Regions from separate parts of the Homo sapiens genome. Here regions 1, 2, 3, 5, 6 and 7 are each linked to region 4. The links are contacts of gene promoters, found by promoter capture Hi-C in human tissues and cell types (Jung and others, 2019). All regions are on one chromosome and are shown on one strand. The core of a region is centred on a gene start or on the middle of the fragment in contact, and the rest is flanking DNA. Distances in the headings are between cores, read along the strand shown. Region 1 overlaps GALNT13 (polypeptide N-acetylgalactosaminyltransferase 13). Region 2 overlaps GALNT13 (polypeptide N-acetylgalactosaminyltransferase 13). Region 3 overlaps GALNT13 (polypeptide N-acetylgalactosaminyltransferase 13). Region 4 holds the start of GALNT13 (polypeptide N-acetylgalactosaminyltransferase 13). Region 5 overlaps GALNT13 (polypeptide N-acetylgalactosaminyltransferase 13). Region 6 overlaps GALNT13 (polypeptide N-acetylgalactosaminyltransferase 13). Region 7 overlaps GALNT13 (polypeptide N-acetylgalactosaminyltransferase 13).

The links. Contacts are between HindIII fragments. The study calls those that stand out against the background at their distance.
Region 1: a contact is called between a fragment that was not itself captured here and the fragment with the promoter of GALNT13 in region 4, in 1 of the 25 tissues and cell types used here (H1 embryonic stem cells).
Region 2: a fragment that was not itself captured here is called in contact with the fragment with the promoter of GALNT13 in region 4 in 2 of the 25 tissues and cell types used here (mesendoderm cells and thymus).
Region 3: a fragment that was not itself captured here is called in contact with the fragment with the promoter of GALNT13 in region 4 in 3 of the 25 tissues and cell types used here (mesendoderm cells, neural progenitor cells and thymus).
Region 5: a fragment that was not itself captured here is called in contact with the fragment with the promoter of GALNT13 in region 4 in 7 of the 25 tissues and cell types used here (H1 embryonic stem cells, dorsolateral prefrontal cortex, hippocampus and 4 more).
Region 6: a contact is called between a fragment that was not itself captured here and the fragment with the promoter of GALNT13 in region 4, in 3 of the 25 tissues and cell types used here (mesendoderm cells, neural progenitor cells and stomach).
Region 7: a fragment that was not itself captured here is called in contact with the fragment with the promoter of GALNT13 in region 4 in 1 of the 25 tissues and cell types used here (mesendoderm cells).

The regions. Positions count from the first base shown.
Region 1 is chr2:154,199,874-154,202,590 of GRCh38, forward strand. All of the region lies in intron 4 of GALNT13 (polypeptide N-acetylgalactosaminyltransferase 13), which reads left to right. Among named protein-coding and RNA genes, the nearest start is that of GALNT13-AS1, 260 kb to the right of the region's middle. The HindIII fragment of the contact is 3,044 bases long and covers 1-2,717 here.
Region 2 is chr2:154,220,454-154,223,265 of GRCh38, forward strand. All of the region lies in intron 4 of GALNT13 (polypeptide N-acetylgalactosaminyltransferase 13), which reads left to right. Among named protein-coding and RNA genes, the nearest start is that of GALNT13-AS1, 240 kb to the right of the region's middle. The HindIII fragment of the contact is 6,248 bases long and covers 1-2,812 here.
Region 3 is chr2:154,262,859-154,265,558 of GRCh38, forward strand. The region is part of intron 8 of GALNT13 (polypeptide N-acetylgalactosaminyltransferase 13); the gene reads left to right. Among named protein-coding and RNA genes, the nearest start is that of GALNT13-AS1, 190 kb to the right of the region's middle. The HindIII fragment of the contact is 5,025 bases long and covers 1-2,700 here.
Region 4 is chr2:153,870,576-153,873,275 of GRCh38, forward strand. GALNT13 (polypeptide N-acetylgalactosaminyltransferase 13) reads left to right here and starts at 1,347. Exons shown (of 13, transcript NM_052917.4): 1 at 1,347-1,728. The HindIII fragment of the contact is 9,874 bases long and covers 1-2,700 here.
Region 5 is chr2:154,331,842-154,334,568 of GRCh38, forward strand. The region is part of intron 9 of GALNT13 (polypeptide N-acetylgalactosaminyltransferase 13); the gene reads left to right. Among named protein-coding and RNA genes, the nearest start is that of GALNT13-AS1, 120 kb to the right of the region's middle. The HindIII fragment of the contact is 4,798 bases long and covers 1-2,727 here.
Region 6 is chr2:154,278,990-154,281,689 of GRCh38, forward strand. All of the region lies in intron 8 of GALNT13 (polypeptide N-acetylgalactosaminyltransferase 13), which reads left to right. Among named protein-coding and RNA genes, the nearest start is that of GALNT13-AS1, 180 kb to the right of the region's middle. The HindIII fragment of the contact is 7,348 bases long and covers 1-2,700 here.
Region 7 is chr2:154,183,178-154,186,036 of GRCh38, forward strand. The region is part of intron 4 of GALNT13 (polypeptide N-acetylgalactosaminyltransferase 13); the gene reads left to right. Among named protein-coding and RNA genes, the nearest start is that of GALNT13-AS1, 270 kb to the right of the region's middle. The HindIII fragment of the contact is 4,403 bases long and covers 1-2,859 here.

The sequences.
Region 1 (2,717 bases), core at 20-2,519, 330 kb after region 4:
TTATAATAATCAAGGTTTGGATTGAAAGCATAATAAATTATTCAGAGATGCATTATATCCTTGATTTTATAATTACCGAGCAAGAATTCCAGAGATATGCACAGTTGCATGTTCCATATAGACTCCTCAGAAATCATACCTTCAACATAAGTAAAATAACTTCCACTAGTAATTTATTTATTTTTTGTGAGGGATGGGGGGATTAATTCTTAAATATTAAGGCATTAAAGTTTCTACAAATTGTTATCCCTGTAAGATTTCATTTTAGGAGTCATGAAGATATATTGGGTAGTAAACATAAAATTATATTTTGTCTTTGCATATTCAAGTCAGTCCTCTAAGTGTGATTGTCATTTAACTTATGTAATGCATAATTTTTCTTATCTCTTTCGAGATAAGAAAAGAATTTCAATAGAATTACTGCATTAACTATGGAGATGGGGTGGTGATTAAGGGGAATATCCCACCAAAGATATGAACTGTGGTCTGGTAAGAGTATGGCAAGAGGAATAGAAGAAATGCCACTACATTACTTTTAATGCATTTCCCATGAAGATTGTCTTAGTCTGTTTGTAAAGCTATAACAAAATATCATAGACTAATTTATAAATAACAGAAATTTATTTCTCACCTTTGGAACTTGGGAAGTTGAAGATCAAGGTGCTGTCAGGTTCAATGTCTTGTGAAGGTCCTGGTCTCCACTTTCAAGATGGCAGCTTGTTGCTGCATTATCTGGAAGAGAGGAATGCTATGTCCTCACATGGCAGAAGGTAGAAGGGCAAGAGGGCCAAGTATTGTGTGAAGTCTCTTTTATCAGAGCCTTAATCCCATTCACAAGGGAGGAGCCCTCATACCTGATCACCTCTTACACACCTCACCTCTTGCTACTATCACATTGGCCATTAAATTTTAACACCTGAATTTTGGAGAGGACACATTCTGACTATGGCAGAGATTAAGCTGTAAAACTTGACTAACATACATGATGAGACAGTTCATCTATTAAGATTTATTTTGAACTGAAGAGGCTTTGGGAACTAGCCTAGAAAATGTATATCTTATATAATTTTGTTTTTCCAAGAAAATGCAATTCTATTTTACAACAATTAAAAGAACTTTAAGAAAATACTTTTGGAATATTATCAGTTCCTACATTTGAAGTCTCTTTATATGTATATGTGTGTGTAGTCACATCAAGTGGTATATATAATATGCTTTGTATTAGTTTGTAAGAGCTATTATCAAGTTCAGCTAGCCAACTGAAGAAATTGTGGTCAGCCTACAAAGAGTTGTCATGTGTATTAATAATGTAATCTGAATGACTGCAGAGTGATGAAATTATACTGTTAGTAGTTAATAAAGACAATAGAAAGTCTTCCATGAATGTGTATTCATGACAGCATGAGAGAATAATTCTGTCTAGTTACACTTTGAAATCCTGGCATGTCATAGAAGCTTTGTTTGATTTGTTGCTGTTGCTTTCTTGACAGAAATTCAATTTAGGGAGAAACTCTGAGACCAACGCATCTCTTACCTGTTTTGTGAAGCATGGCATTGAATACTGTCTTATACCTATTAGCAATCATGGCAAGAAGACATTAGTAACGATGACACACATGCATAGCATCACCTTCTTACTTTATTTAAAGTGTCATGCGATTGGGCCCCTTAGATAACTGTTTCAAACAGGTTTAGACAATTTTGCAGTTTAAACATACAGAGGCTACCAAAACCACTGACCATAAAATGTTGTTCTTTAGATCACATTTTTTAAAAAGTATCCTTGGTTATCTCCTCTTTTCAAAGGCTTCCTTTATCTTCATTTTGTTTTGATAATGGTAAGAGTTAATTCTAAATGTTTTTGCCATAAGCATGTGTGTTTGGGAATTCTTTGCTTTTTACTTACAGAACAGGCATCTAATTGAGCAAGTATGTCCCAAAAGATAGATATGTGTCTGGCAGTGCTTGCCCTTCACCTAAGTCCTTGTTCCATTAGAGTGACTATTATTGACAGACAGCACCATCTTTGATTCTTCCTTGATGCTTCAAGACTCAGCAAGAGTCACCTAATTTTATTATTGCTGTTTACAATTTGTCCCTTGACAATTACATTTTTACAACTAAGACACATTGATGAAGATAACTTTCTGGCATTTATACTGCTTACCCTTTGATTTAATTCAATCCAAAATACTTTTGTGAAACACCTACTTTGTGCCTGGCTGCAGGCAAGGTTGCTCTCTGTCTAGCAGGGGAGAAAAATAACTATATTATAGAAGAATAATGCAGACATATGTAAGATGTTAATGGAGTGTCTACTGTGGAAAAGATAAAAACTTTTGCTTTCATGGGAAGGGGCTAGATTGGGGTATTCAGGAAAACCCCTGTAAGGTAATATTTGATCTAGATTTTGAAAGATATATGTATTTTAATTACATATAGTAAGTACTGTATGTTCCCTGATGAAGTTCTATTTTTCAGGGAATGCTGCTGCACTTAGCGTCCTTGAGATCACACTTCTACTTTTGGATTAGTAGAAACATGAATGGAGGTAGCATTTTTTAAGGCACATATTCTTAAGTGGACACTTTACAGATTATGATTATGACTCTCAGTATCCTCTTTCTTTAGCCATGGGCCAGGGAGCCAGGGTAACTTAAAACAATATAGGAAAATAATACATTAGAAGGCTGGAGAAAATTTAGGAGATTTTACTT
Region 2 (2,812 bases), core at 147-2,646, 350 kb after region 4:
AGTCATGTTCTACTAGGTCTTAAGCTCTTAAATTAATTTCCTGACTTTCTGTTCATTTTCACTTCAAATCTTAAAAATACATGTGCACATATGCATACACACATATTTCTGAAGAAAAGAAAAGTTATTTTAACTTACATATTTATATTATGAACTTGGGATAGAAGCTGTTAAAATCTTGATCTTGTACAAATTTTTTTTATCATGGGTTTATTATTTTGCAATGCCAGTAATAAAGCAAGTTGTCATAAAAGTAGTCAACAGTGAATCATCTTATAACAATCAAGGGAGTAGGTGATACTTATTAAATCCTAGTTTTTAAAGACATTATGCTAAGAAGGCCCATTGTTTATAACATTTAATTAATGAAAGATTGCAGAAGTTTGTAAAGTTTAAATAAGACACTTGTGCTTTAGTTTCTGGCCCAAATACTTGTCCTAATTCTCCAGACTGTCACCTTTTTGTTTTAGATGAGCGCAAAGAAATAATGGCATTTTATAGACAGACCAAATTAAATTATATTAATTTGTTTACTCACATTTTAAGCACATAGTGCACTGGGGCTTAGAAAGATAAAGGAATCATTTTCTCTGGACTCCAAAAGCTTCTAATAGGTTTTTACCACTTACCAATATATTAACCAATTCTTTCCACCTGCCAGAATATTCTAGTAATAAAATGCACAAATTAGTATTGTCAGTCAATTAACTTAGCTTTCTTGAATACAGGCTGTTACAGTACTTGTTGATGCAAACAGAAAAATGCAAAAATGAGAGCCTGCTTTCCTTATCATACGAATAATTATTAATAGAAATAGTAATGTTTATTTTTCATTGTTATATCATGTATATTGTATTAGACAATAATAATTTTTAAAGTGAATGATCCTCACCACTGTGTTCAAAGCCAGCATCTATTATTATTAGAATTCTTATTTGAATAACTCCTTGACTTAGTAATTCAACTAATTACATTGTTTTGTTTTGCAGGTAGATATTTCTTTTGACTGTTGGCTTGAGGTTGATTTTGTTCCCTAAAATTAGAATCTGTAATTATAGACTAATGTAACATTTGAGATCTAAGACAGCAGTGATCTTGAATTTGTAATAATTTGACAATCACAAGTGCAGTAGGTTCTCCTTAGAGAATGAAAGGCAATTCTATTTGAGGCTTCTAGTAACAGATTCCAAAGACAACTTGTTCCTTTCTGCAGGATATGGAAAAAGGAGTTAGAGTTCAGATACTAACCCTATTCATTACTCTTGAAATCTTCCTTCTGACATGGAAATTCTCTTTTAGAGCACAGCAATTGACATTCAAATGAAGTTTGTTCTTTTCCTCAATGAAAACATTACTTGTTTATCTTATTATGAAAATTCATTTGTTTTACCGTTCATTAATGTTTGAAATGGGGCACAGAGTAGGCTTTCCTTTTTCCCAAGACACCACACCACTGTAATTCTCAAAGAGAAATGGTGGAACCACCCCAACATTTCTCCAAAATAGTTTTCATTTCTTTTATAGTTGCTTGAATTCCAGCTCTATTTGTTATATTAGGAAAAACTTAAAATGCTATGGGTGGGTGCATTTTTCTAGCATTTCAGAAAATGCACCTTTTAAAAAATATTTTTTTCTCACCATTTATTCTTTACATACCATTGTTCCATTTCTGCCTGCTCTTTTTGCACAATTTACAGGTTGATCCACTCTCCTTAGGAAAGAAAGCATTGGGTATTTTGTCTACAGATCCTATGTAAGAAGTCTTACTGAAATCAAATAATCTAGATAAAATTTAAATTCCTAAAAGAAAGTTATAATATCTTCCACAATTAATAATACAAATTATTAGCCAATGAGGCAGATCTTTGAAATGTTTCCCTACTTTTCCTCATGAGTACTATTTTATTTTCATTGAAACTATATTCTGATCAGCCAATATCATGAAAGATAAAGAGGCTTTTATAAGAAAACTGAATAGACCTTAACAGAAAATAAAACAAAGTACCTTATATTATTTTAATCCCTAAAATTATTGTTGATAAAACACAGAATGAATTTTGACCTGGCCTATTCCTTTTGTTTTTAATCTGTTATTTGTTTCATAAAAGGTGAACTGTGTAGAACCTTTGCATTTTATGGGTACATTTCCCCTACAGTAGCTCCTAGACACCCTGAAGAGGCAAGGTCAGTGATTGGAGAATTCAGAGACTTGAATTCTGGTCAAAGCACAGCCTCTAGCTATTTATAATACTTTTGTCACATTATTTTCCCTGTTTGTGATGCACTTTCCCCATATGTTACCTCCTCAATCAGGGACGGGTTGAGGATTTATGCATGAGTTCATGGAGTAAGTTGGATTCGAAAGAGAAGCATCATTGAAGTGGTACCTGTGATTGGTGTCAACAAAAGAGAGACAAACTTTTTCTTTTTTAATTCTGCTTTATTTCAAAAGGATTTAAGGACAATATAAGCTATGCTGTTTAAATAAATAATGAAGTAGAATAAATTAAGAAAAAAATGCCAGCTCTAGTTCAGAGTTCACGTGTAGCAAGACAGGAATACTTGATTTAAACATGTAACTTCTATTTATTAAACCAAAAATTATAGCTCTTGGTTAAATTATTTGAAGATAGAATCTGGGATTTCTTTAGCATATAAAACTATAAAAGGGTCCACCTTTAGGTATGTAATCAAGTGGTCTTAAATCTTCAATATGATTTTAAAGGAGAAACCTATTATTTTGATATTCAATTTATTTTTCAGCCCTTTTCATAGAATACAGATGTGAAATTATTTAATAATACAATTAAAT
Region 3 (2,700 bases), core at 66-2,565, 390 kb after region 4:
TACCCAAATAAAATAGTGATAAAATGAACCAAGAAAATTATGAATTACCATCAAAAAGTATCCTCTATCTTTAAATAATAACCGTGTTTCAGGATAAGTATCAACCAACAAGCATCACCACCAAAAGTCCTTGTCTTTTATAAGCAATATCATGGGGAGCAGCATTCCCAAGAGTACAGATCATTTTGCCCATTCTAAAATGAAGAAAACTGCCACTATCCAATCAACTCAGAGCATGGGAAAAAATAAATAAAGGAGCTTGATGACAGCAAAGGACACAGAAATCTGTCTCACAGCCATGAATGGTTACAAGTATGGACTGGGATTCAGATAGCCTGCATTCAACACCCAGCTCTGGCACTTACCATCTGTGTAAGCTTAGGTAAGATAGCACATATTCTAAGCTTTAGTGTGTCCATCTCTAAAACAGAAAGATAACAGTACTTTCCTCATTTTTAGAGAAAGATTAAATGATATTATGTATATTGTGCTGAGTACTCCACTCAGCACATAGTGTGTCATTCATGGCAGCTGTTGTGGTGATTGTTATAAGCTGTGCAACTCTGGGCAAGTCATAACATTCCTGAGAATCACCTAAAAACAATCTTACCTTTAATAATTTGGCTTTGATCATGGTTAATCACAAGAGAGAATGTAGAGAAAAAGTCATTTAAACCCAGAAATGCAATATACATTAAAGTATAATTATACTAAGTGTTAGTTGAGATGTAGTTCTAAGGCTCCCCTGCTCAAAAAATATATTAAATTTTAAAAAGGAAAAGAAAAACCACACACAAAAAAATACTTTTTATACTTCCACAACATCATTGGAGTTAATTACTGACATCTAAGAATCTAGGGTGGAAAACATTTTTCTACACTCATAAATCAGTTGGAATGAAACAGTTGTTAATTTTTAAAAGTATGTATCATCTAGACTTGGAGTAACAAGTACTAGATTTACCATTCTCCTCGTCATTCACCTGAATAAATTAAAAAATGGACAAAAATACATGAAATAACACTTTCAAGACATTGAACAGCAGTCACCCTGAGAGATGGGAAACAAACAAGGAAAGCCTTACAATTGCCTCGGCTTACTGCCTTGTGAAAGTTTCTAGGCCTTAGTGATAAAAGGGCTAGATACTGACAGACTCCATGACTTGAGGAGATGAAGCTGAGTGTTTGGGGAGACCAAGCCCGCTGGAATTTGGTGAACAGAGTAATGGAGTCCTGGGCAGAGCATTGAAGAGATATACAGAGGTTTCTGTGGGAGTATTCAGCTGTGTCTTCACAAGTGTGTGAGGAAACAATCCAAGTCTGAGGAAAGAACCTTCAGAAAAGGTTAGAGGTCTCATTGCCCAGTGATGACTCAGGAAAGTCAATAGTACCTGTATCCTCCAGACAGATTGATTCATGAGGTAAGGGGTAGAGGAAATATTGAGAAACTACATAACATACTTCTTAAAAACCCATGGATAGTCTGGATGTGGTGGCTCATGCCTGTAATCCCAGCACTTTGAGAGATCGAGCAGGCAGATCACCTGAGGTTAGGAGTTCAAGACCAGCCTAGCCAACATGGTGAAACTCTGTCCTTACTAAAAATACAAAAAAAAAAAAAAAAAAAAATTAGCTGGGCATGGTGGTGGACTCCTGTAATCCCAGCAACTCGAGAGGCTGAGGTAGAAGAATCGCTTGAACCCAGGAGGCAGAGGTTGCAGTGAGCCGAGATCATGACACTGCACTCCCGTCTGGACAACAGAGCGAGACTCTGTCAAAAACAAACAAACAAACAAAACCCACAGATTAAAGAACAAGTAAAATTACCACTATTTGGAATGTAATGAAAATGAAAACATAGCACATCAAAATGTGTAGTGACACTAAAGCAAACTTAGGAATTATTTATAGCACTAAATGTCTATATCAGAAAAGAAAAAAAAAAAAAAGAGGTAAAATCAATGACCTTAGCTTCCACCTTCAGAAACTAGAAAAAGAAGAGTTTTTATGCCAAAGTATCTAAGAAAAAGGAAATAATAAAGATAACAGCAGAAATAAATGAAATATAAAAGGAATATATATAATATTCCACATATATGATACCTATATGATAAAAAAAAATATATATATATGGAAAAGCAATGAAACCAAAATTTGTTTCCTTGAGATCAATAAAATAGATGATATTTTAGCCAAATATGGGAAAAATAGAGAGATGACACAAATTATCAATTTTGGAAATCAGAAAGGTGGCATGACCACCATGTATTCTACAGATGGCTAAAAGGATTGGAATGGAACATTATCATTCTCATTATGCCAATAAACTTGACAACTTAGATAAAATGGACAACTTCATTAAAAGATACAAATTATCAAAGCTCACAGAAAGAAAAAATAGACCAAACAGCCCTGTATCTAGTAAATAAATGAAATTTATTCTAAAAATTTATAATTTTTAATACTTTAAAAATAATTTTTACAAAGGAAACTCAATGGCCAGATAACCTAACTGGTGAACTCTACCAAATGTTTTGGGTAGAAATCAGAAGAGTTCGGGCCAGGCTCAGTGGCTCATGCCTGTAATCCCAACACTTTGTGAGGCCGAGGAGGGCAGATCACCTGAGGTCAGGAGTTGGAGAACAGCCTAGCCAACATGATGAAACCCTGTCTCTACTAAAAATACAAAAATTAACCGGG
Region 4 (2,700 bases), core at 97-2,596:
TGCTCCATAATTGACGGTAGGGCAGGATGGACAATGTAGGAGGAGACATTAATACAGTTATTAACATAGAAATTTAAATGATACTTGACTCACGAAAAGATATAAAGATAATATCTCTGGAAATTGCCTTTCATGAGTATAATCAAGAATGGCATTGACATACTAGATTATGATTAATAGTATCATATGTTTGTCAAACGTGGCTGTTTAATATTTTTATGTAGTCGTTATATCCTCCCCCAATTCTGCCAAAAACATCCTATAAGATGTGTGAAGTGACACTGTGAGAAGCAAGGACCCCTGTCAGCCCTTATTACAAACAAGACAACTGACACCCGAAGGGCCAAAACTAGCCAAGAGCCACAGTGAATAAATTGCCAAGCAGGCACTTGAACTCGGCAATCCCAATTTCCTAGAAAAGTTCCTCTCCCATGGCAGTGGGGGACAGGTCCCAAGTCTTTGAGACGCTAATAATGTCTGCGTCTTAGGTTTCTGCCTTGTGCCAGGCACTGTTCTAAAATCTTTACATGTATTTAAACTCAGTACCATGGGGGTATTGGTACAACACATTAACTGAGACATTCATACGTCCAGGTACTTCGGAGTGGGTGTGTGTTTAATATCATACCTACTTGCCTGAGAAAGGAATTCAAAGCCCCACTTTTTTCTTTACCTCTTCATAAAAATTTGAGAGCCACAAGGAAGCGCTCTGTGTTTCCAGTACTCTTACAGTGCGTTCGGTGGCAGTAGTCACCGCCAACCAGAACACTAGGATCCTGCCAGGGTGTAGATACTGTAACCAACAAGAGGCCAACCTCCGTCCTTTCTGCGGAGGGCGCCGAAGCGTCAAGTACCCCGCAGCATCTCTCGGCTGGAGAGCCGACGGCAAGGGTGGGGTTGCCGGCGCTTTCCCCGAGGGCAGTCTCTGATCCTCCAGCTCCCCTCTAAGAGGCTCCCTGGTGCATTGGGCGAACGCGGTGCACGCAGGCCGGCTTTGGCGTTGTGGGGCCCCAAAGCGGCCAGGGGTCGCGAGGCGCCCTCCGGCGAGAGGAGCTGACCCCAGGGTTGCTCTTGGGGGCCGTGCCTGCCAAGTATCGCGGGACTTGCGCACATCGCAGAAGCGCCAGCTCCAGAAGCAGCTGGAGCGCGCTCGGTGCGCACCGCCCCAGCCCGGGGAGGAGCGGGAGCAGGGAGGGAGGAGGGCTGGGGGTGCTGGTTACGTAAATGATACTAGCCCAGTGAGAGGCCTCCAGGCTGGGGCTACGAGAGGAGGAGGGACCACGCGAGGAGGAGGGACCGGGAGGCGGCGGGCTGGGGTGGGAGGGGGGCGGGGGCCGGGGAGAAGTGACCAGGCGGCGGCGGCTCTGCTGAGGTGACAACGTGCTAGCAGCCCTCGCTCGCTCTGGGCGCCTCCTCGGCCTCAGCGTCCGCTCTGGCCGCGCTCGAGGAGCCCTTCAGCCCGCCGCTGCGCTATGAAGGCCCCTCTCTGGGGCTGGCCGAGGCTGGAGCCGGCTCCCTCTGCTCGCGGGCAAGTGTGAAGAGAGAGGCGCGGGCGGGAGCCGGGGCTGCGCGCGGCGCTCGCGGGCCGGCGCGGGTTCCAGGTGAGCGCGGACTCGGCGAGCCCCGCACTCGGCGCGGCCGGCCGGCGCCTGCTGGGCTTGATCTGAGGCTGAATCCCGTGTGTGGACCGCCGTTCCCTCTTCGCGGGATCGTTGGCCAGGATAGCAGGTCTCCGTCTCTTTCTCGCTTCCCCTCTTTTCCTCTTGATTGTCTGGGACGAGCTCCCTCTGGGCTGCCAGAGTGCCGGGGCTAGGTGCCGCAAAGTCCCGCGGCGAGTGCCGGGGCGCGGAGCCGAGCGCCCCGGGCCGGTCCCAGGGCAAAGGCAGGGGCGCGGGCGGACCTGGCGACGCGGCCTCCCGGGAGCTCCGAGTGCGCTCGCTTGCGGGGCTGCAGGTGTTGCGGGAGGACCGCGTGGCGCGGAACTTTCTGCCGCCGCCCACCTTCTGCTCTGCTTTTCTGGCTACCCCGGTGAGTTGTTGGTGGCGGGGGGGGGGGGGGGAGCGGCTCTGGCCCCCTCTGCGTTCTGGTGACGTTCCTCCGCGGGGGTGGCTCGGCCTCCAAGCCCAGACAACTTTCTCGCACCAGCTGCAGGCAGCCCCGGCTGCGTTGCGGGCGTTTCTACTCGACCCGACACCAGGCGCTCCCTGGGTCTTGGGTGTCTTCCTCGACGGTTGCCTTCGTATAGTGCCCCCTTTGCCTCGCTTTTTCAGAGTCCTCTTGCCTCTCATTCTCGCCGTGTGTGTCTCTGCCTCTGTTTCTCTTTCTGAGCCTTGGTCCCCTCAGTCCACACTCTCCGGCCATGTATCTGTTTTTTTCTCTTATTCTGTTTCCCTCTTTCTTTCTTGGGATATCTGTGTCCCTGTTAATCTGTCTTTCCTTTTGTCTCTCCGTTTTGCAACATTTGTTCTCTTTCTGTGTCTGCTTCTCGCAGCTTATCTCTGTCTCCCTCTGTCATCTCTCTGCCCCGTCTTCCCGAACACCAGCCCCGCGATCCCGAAGCGCCTTGGTTAGGGGAGCAAGCCCTGGCGCATCTAATGGGTATCTCCAGGTGCAGAGATTTTCCTGCGGGGTCAGTGGGGACGCGGAGGAGACAGCCTGCCCTTGTCCAGGCTGTCGTGGACCTGAAGGAGGGGCGCAAGG
Region 5 (2,727 bases), core at 186-2,685, 460 kb after region 4:
GCCACTTCTTGCTACAGAAATAGAAAACTGTAAATGTGTTATTTGTGAAAGACACAAGAGCTCTGGAAGCAAATGCCCAAGGCAGTCTTTATTAAGGAATAAATTCATTTGACTGGTTTGAATAATTTGAATAGCAATGTGCTGTCTCCACGTGATCTATTTCAGGCTTTAATGCTGTTGTACTGGGTTGAATAATTTACAGAAAACATTTGAAGCTATTAGCTCTGGCATTCAAAATACCATGCTTCTCATACATGGATAGCAATCCAGACACACTTAGCCTCTGTATCTTTATATACCCTTATGACCTTGTCTTTTATCTCAAAAAAGTAAAAAGGAAAAACTGGAGGAGAAAAGAATTGAGGTTGTCCTTGAGTACATGTGTTTTATAAGAGACAGAGAGATTGTGTTTTCTACCTCTGCTGAGCCTAAAAATAACAAACATAAATGCTGACCTTGAGGCCAGAATGTTCAAAGCTTGGTTTTTACAAGAGTTCCCTAGTTTTGATAAATTCTTGAATCTCAGTGAGTCTCCTCAGCAACATCTGTAAAATGGGAACTGATTCTGCCCCTTGCTATCCCACAAAAAAAAATTGAGTATCTAACCAGGTAAGATGTTAAAAAGACATGATGGGTGGTCTATAAAGCCCTCCTGCATGGTTTAAAATGAAATTAAAAAAATAATATTCTTTATGGGACCCATTTGTCTACACACTGAATGCTGAAACCACAAGTTGAGGAACCTCTTTATAAGACACCTACCTCTTCTAGTTTTTCACCCAGCAACAAATCTCTCCAGAACATGAATCTGTCTTCCGGCTATGTGAGCTGGTTGCCCTGTTTACAAACTTGCCAGTAGCTGTGGCCAGTGCCTCCTCTTTCCCAGAGAAATGTTACTGATTGAGCAAAGTTATGAAATGATATTTAACTCAATCCTAAAGGCAAATGCTGAAAAGCCATCAGTTTTCTTATGTGATAAAAGCAAATGAATGAAGAATAAGAAATCTATCTTCTCATGTACATATTTTCACTACTTTCAGTTATCTGAATGTTTTGTCGTAGAAACACAAAAAACCCATAGGTGTATGCCTCTTGGAAGCTTCCCTACACATCATATCTCCTTTTCCTAATTTTTCCTAAGTAGAATTAATCACTTCATTCTCAGTGTTTCTGGAGAATGCTTCTGTAGAGTTACCTTGGTTTTCAAATGTCACATGGCTTTAGAATGACCTTTTGATGAGCCTACCTTCCCCCCAATTAAGGAATGATTTCTAGGAGCCCCATCTTTTTCTTTCTGTATTGCCAGGACCTCCTTAGCCCTGCACCTGTGACTCAGTAGAGCCTAAGGACACCTAGAGGTTAGAAAATAAATACAAGAATTTTCAGTGATTATCACTGATATTGGAGTTATAGTTGTATTCGAAACTATATATAAATGTATACATATATGTAAAAAATACATAAATGTTTTTCTAAGTAGAGACATGTTTTATAAAAGAAATATGAATTATTAAAATAGTTAAATATTTTATTGATTATACAAAGTGATTCTGTAGCCAGAGATTCTAGTCCTGCGTTAAAGAACATGTATAACTCTTTTATCTAGAAAGCTTTATTCTTTGAAAGTAGGAAACTCAATTACATTATTGGGTTTGAAATAATGATGTTTCTCATTCGCCATTTGTTGAACAAAATAATTGATGAAAGCAAAAACAAATTGCACATCTTCAATTGTGTAAAACATTTTCAATGACTTGTCTTTCCCCTATTTTATATTAATTTTTAATTCACTTGAAATAGCAATGAATTCTTTATACCTGTTTATAAAAATGGTGAAAATGTTTCAAAATATCAGTTGGGCAATGACTAATAGCAATTATAAATGCACAGCTCTTGCTATTGTAAAGGGAGTTGGCAGCTTATCCCTCCTCCTAGACAAATTAAAATGATGACTATTTCTCCCTGTTAAGAGAAAATGTAGTAGTTCTACTAAATCTGCAAGTGGCAGCTCGTGCTTCATTTGAGACTAGGCTTTTGTTTTTAACAAATGAAAATAATCCAGTGTCTTTGCTTGGATACTAATCGTGGAAGATAATGTCAAACTGGCCTATTTCTACAATTGTCGTAACTTGCAAAGCTTCACAGACAGCTGAGTTCATTATGTTGAAGTTGTCAATCACACAGGCAGTCGTTTATATTCCTTTTGAACTCTGTTATGTTACCTCATGGATGACTTTTTTTCTCTTCTCTTTTATATGATGTTAAAACATTCCATTCTATCTCCTTTACAATTGACATTCTAGAAAATACCCATAAGATTTTCTTTGCCTTAACAGAGAAATACAATACTTTGTTCATTCAACTAATGTTAGAGATATGATTCCTTAGGCTAATCTCAAACTTTTGAAATCCCATTTTACTATTACATTGAGAATTTCTTTCTACCTGCCTTATTAAAAACTATAGGATGCAATAGCATTCGACACCCTGTAAATTCATTATAAATTCACATAGCATTCACCAAGATAACTCATTTATATCTATGAAATCAATAGACAGCCTTTAAACTAAACTGGAACTGAAAGTATTATCAATACTACAGAAATTTTTAAGCTGTAAATATGATGGAGAGAGCAATGTTGAATAGCTGATGTGGGTTTTTAGTTCTGATCATCTAACCTCCACTACATCAAAACAGTTTTGTGGGGTCCCCATTTCAGACAAAGG
Region 6 (2,700 bases), core at 114-2,613, 410 kb after region 4:
ACTAGTTTTAAATATGCGGTGATATCTAAAAAGAAAAAGAAAGGGATAATTGATGAGATAAATACCTACAGGTATTGGACAAATGGTATAGCAATAAAGAATATCTGTGTGACACTTAGTTTACAGTGCAGTTTCACACTCATTATTTTACTATGTCCTTACCAGAACACTCTAGATGAGTTCTTATTATCATCTTATTCTATAGTTGAAGGTTCTGAGCCTCAGATAAATTGTCATGTGCCTAGAAATTGGCAGGGCTAAACATCAAACTCACATCTCCTGACTCCAAGTCAGGAACCTTAATACGAGTTCAGGAGACCAAGGGCAAGGGTGAACTTCAGAGAAGAGGATTGACTTTCTTTCCTAAAATGGAAAGAAGAAACTAAGGATATTTGAGACATTTCGAGGTAGAAATGAGTAGAAAATCAGGTGAGCTCTTTTTGATCTCAAGGAAAGTGGAGGCAAGAGATTATTTTCAGAGAAGATAGAATTTATATGGAGCTTGATAACAGGTGAAAATTTTGGATTAATCACAGCTTCTTCAACAAGCATTTGAATGAGCATTTGATGTTCTCTATGGAGCAACTTTTAAATTTCACAAGAATAACATTTTGAAGTACTAGTGTACCAAGGAAATTATCTTTACTGGACTTTAAGCATCATATCTAAAGAAATAAACTTTGCACTCCCCTCTCCTTGTTTGTGACTGACAAGTTAGCAAAGCAATATGCCAAATGTTGCTATTTCATGGTTATTTCTTTACTCTTCTAAAGTGTAATGTAACCTTCATTGACTATTACCAATTAATTTTTTTAATAAAAAACTGTCAAAAGTAGAGTATTAATTTCCTTCTTAGGATGTTTGTGGGTTTCTTGAATAAGTACTTGAGGTGACATTAACATGGATATTTTTAGGTGTTTCACATTGGTTCTTGCCAAACTCTATATAGCAAAAAAAAAAGTGCCTGTAAGATGAGTTTTGAGAGGTACTCATATTTTCCATTGACAGCATTAGAATTTTAGATATGCCCCCTAGGGAAAGTACTTATTTGAAGCAAAACTTACAGCTTTAAAAAATAATGTCTTAGGTTCTTGACTAGAAACAAAATGACTCTAGCTGATTAAAAGCCAGGAGAAAGGCATCCTGTCTATCACGATGGTGGGGGTGAGAAACTCTCAAGTCCCCTTCTTGTAAGCATGAGAGACTGTTTATTTATTTATTTCACTGTCAAATGCAAACTGATGACTAGACTTTAACTTTAATATGCCCAGTTTTGACATTCACAACTAGACTGGCCTGTAAGCTACTAGAGAGCTATGTATTATTATTATTCTTTTTCTATGCCCCAGAGCCCAGCATTGTGCTTGACAACACACAAAGTAATTGGCTAATATATATTTGCTGAATATATGCCAGCCAGGATCTTAGAAAAAAATTCTCAAGAGGAGACAGGTTGTCCTATTTCCTCAAATTTATCACAATTCTCTACATTTGGGACACACATGACCACTTTACAAATTACACAGGAAATTTAATTGAAACTGAAATTCTGTAACTCCAATTAGGAGAGGTGGACATTTACAGATGGAGAGACTGAAGGAAAACTTTTTCTGAGCTACCAGGTTTTCTTTTCCACTCAAGTTCTTTTTATGTATTGCTGGCATCTGTGAAAGAGCAAGAGATGCCATATATTGCAGCTGGGTACCCAGGTGGTCTACTGATATTCAAAGGGGACTGGTTTGGCATGAATTCTAGGGCAGCGTCACGCAGCTGTCATGAGCCACTCTGTGGCTAGAAGCAGCAGATGTTACTGATATCTGAAAGGCAGTCACATCAGACATGGGAGAAGACCAATGTAAAATGCAAGGTATCTGACCTACATATCATTTAAGAAATCACACACATTTTCCATTCAGTTTTCAAATTTACATCCACATACAATTTTTTTCACAGTTGAGAGTAATTGATAGGCTTAATTATACAACGAGGAAAACAAAAATTCCAATAATTCTACTTTTGTCTTAATAATCACTTAAATATACTGAAAATACTTTCAAAGCCTCCAGGATGTATTATACCTTAACATTATTAATTATTAAAAGATGAAAAAGTGTTACTGTATCATATATTATTTTTGTTTCCTTTCTTCATGAGTTACTGTTTGAAACAATTTGTGCTCATAAAAAAGCAATGCTTGTTTATAATGTGAAAACCTAACCATTAATTTCTTAAGCAGAACCATCTTATATTATGTAGGATTTCTAATATCTGACAGATGGCCTTACATTTTTTATTTCTTGCCTGTTATATTCATACATTTTATTTACACAGAGAACGGAAGATTTGCCACAATACAATCAGAACCATGTGTTGTATTGTTGATCTAAAGGACAATTGGGATTTTCTGAAATATCAGCAGCCCTAATAAGATGTGGAGTAATGACATGTAACAATTTTTCTGATTCCAGAAAACACAAAAGCCATAAAGTGTGGTGATCAATCCTAAAGGTCAGAAAACTCCAAGGCAAAGAAAGTTGTCGAAAGGCAAAAAGTGACAGTAGATTGTACATTAGGAAATGTTGGCATGAGTATTTTGGGGGTAGCTTCACTGTGTTTTTGAGCTGCTAGGAATGGGTTTCTGGTTTTGAGAGGAGTGGGAGATGAGATTAAAGGCTCCATCTGTGATCAATACCACTTCAC
Region 7 (2,859 bases), core at 359-2,858, 310 kb after region 4:
ATAAATACCAAATCAATGTTTTTAGTTGTAATTAGTATGTTGAGATTTTCTATTTCTTCCTAGTTCAGTCTTTGTGAATTGTATGTTTATAGAAATTTATCTCTTTCTGCTAGGTTATCCAATTTGTTTGAGTATAACTGTTCATAGTAGTTTCTTATGATCCTTTATACTTGTGGACTCTCTTTCATTTATAATTGTATTTATTTGAGTCCTCTCTCTTTCTCTGTTGTTTAGTCTATCTAAAAGGTTGCAGACTGAGTATGGTGGCTCACGCCTGTAATCCCAGCACTTTGGGAGGCTGAGGCGGTTGATTGCTTGAGCCTGGAAGTTCAAGACAAGCCTGGGCAACATAGCAAAACCCCACCTCTACAAAAAAATAAAAACATTAGCTGGGTATGGTAGTGCATGCCTCTAGTCCCAGATACTTGGGGGACTGAGGCAGGAGAATCACTTGAGCCCAGGAAGTAAAGGCTGCAGTGAGCCATGATCATGCCACTGCACTCCAGCCTCGGCAACAGAGTGAGACCCTGTCTCAAACAAACAAACAAATTGAAAAAAACTTGTCAATTTTGATTCTCTTTTCAAAAAAAAAAATTCTTAGTTTCATTTTTCTTTTGATTGTTTTTCTAATCTATTTCATTTATTTCTGCTATTATCATTACTATCTTTACTATGTTTTTTCTTCTGCTAATTTGGGGATTAGTATTCTTTTTCTAGTTCTTTGAAATGGAAAGTTAAGTTTATTTGAAATTTTTCTTTATTCTTAATATAGACATTAATTGTTATAGACTCCACAGGGTCTTGCTGTGTTGCCAAGGCTGGCCTCAAAGTCCCAGGCTCAAGAGATTCTCACTTGTTATAACCTTATCATGAATTAACCCATATATTATTTGAATTTATAAATTTATAATATATTTGAACTTATAAATTTATAATAATACATGGGTAAAATATATTATACGAATTTACCCATAGATTATTATAGAATAACCTTCTTTATCTCAATTGTGACAGGTTTTGACCTATAATCTATTTTTTATATACATATACCTGCCTCTTCTCACTTTTTGTAACTCATAGAATATGCTGTTTTACCCTTTGCTTTCAACCTTTGTGTGTACTTAAGAATAAAATGAGTCTCCTGGATACTGTTTTTAATCCATTCAGTGACTCTCTGTGTTTTGATTGAATAATTTAACTTCTTTATACTTGAAGTAATTATTGATTGAGAAGGATTTATTATTGTCATGTTAATTGCTTTTCTGTTTTTTAATTCCTTTGTTATTTTTTTCCTATCTTGCTGTCTTCCTTTGTGATTTTTTTCTTTTCATAGTGATATACTTTGTTTCCTATTCTGTATCATTTACAGTTTCCTCTTTGTGATTATCATGTGTCTTAGTCTGTTTAGTGTTGCTAAGAATACCTGAGGCTGGGTAATTTGTAAAGAAAAGGGATTTATTTGGCTCATGATTATGCAGGCTATATAAGATGTATGGCAAGAGAGAAAACAAGAGTAGGGAGTAGAAGTGCCAGGCCCTTTTTAACAACCAGCTCACACCAGAACTTATAGAGCAATAACTCACTTATTACTGCAAGGACAGTGCCAAACCTTTACATTTTTTCATATAATATATCATTTAAAAAGTTATTGCAGCTCTAGTTATTTGTAATACTTTAATCTTAACTTTTATATTAGAATTAAAAGTGATTTATATACCACCATTAGAGTATTAGAATTTTCTTAATTTGATGGTATACTTACCTTTGCCAGTGAGTTTTATGCCTGCATATGTTTTGATGTTGGTAATTAGTATCTTTTCATTTTAACTAGAAGAACTTTCTTTAGCATTTCTAGTAAGGCAGGTCCAGTGATGATAACCTCCTTAGATTTTGTTTGTTGAAGAAAATAATTATCTTTTTATTTGACAGCTTTAGTGGTTATCAATTTCCTAGTGGGCAGTTATTTTCTTTAAGCACTTTGAATATGTCATTTCACTTTGACCTGACATGCAGAGTGTTGGCTGAAAAATTTACAGATAATTTCATGAAGTTTCCTTTGTTTCTGATAAATTGCTTTTCTATTACTGCTTTCAAAATTCTCTCTTTGTCTCTGACTTTTGACAATTTGATTATCATATGTTTCAGTGAAGATGTCTTTATTCTCAACTAATTGGAATTCTTTGGGCTTTATCAACCTAGATGTTCATTTCCCTATTTGTATTTGAAACGTTTTTTGTCATGAATTATTTAAATAAGCTTTCTACACCTTTCTCTTTCTCTATCCCTTCCGAGATTCTCATAGTATACATATTAATTCACTTGATAGTGTACCATAAGCCCTATAGGTTTTCTTCACTTTTTTATTGTTTTTACTTTTTGTTTCTTTGACTGGATAATTTTAAATTATCTGTCTTTGTGTTCTCTGATTCTTATATTTGATTAAATCTGCTGTTAAAGTTCTCCATTGACTTTTTCAGTTCAGACATTATATTTTTTAGTTTCAGAATTTCTATTTTTTTATAATTTTTATCTCCTTGTTGAACTTCTCATATTGCTCACTTATTGTTTTCCTGATTTTATTTAGTAATCTATAAGTTATGTTTCTAAATGATTATTTCTAAATGATTACCTACAATGAAGAATCTGACTCCATATCAAGGTACTTTCTATACTCTGCCGTATTAAAATGTATTGCCTAGCTTGTAGTTCAAATGGATATTTTCACTCATGCTAAACTTTGTAATATTATTTACTGTTCATTTGGAAAATATTTTTTACTTAATTATTACAGTCTTCCAAATATAGCATATTTCATATTACACTAGTTGGTAGTTTTATGTCATAAAATTACATTGGCTA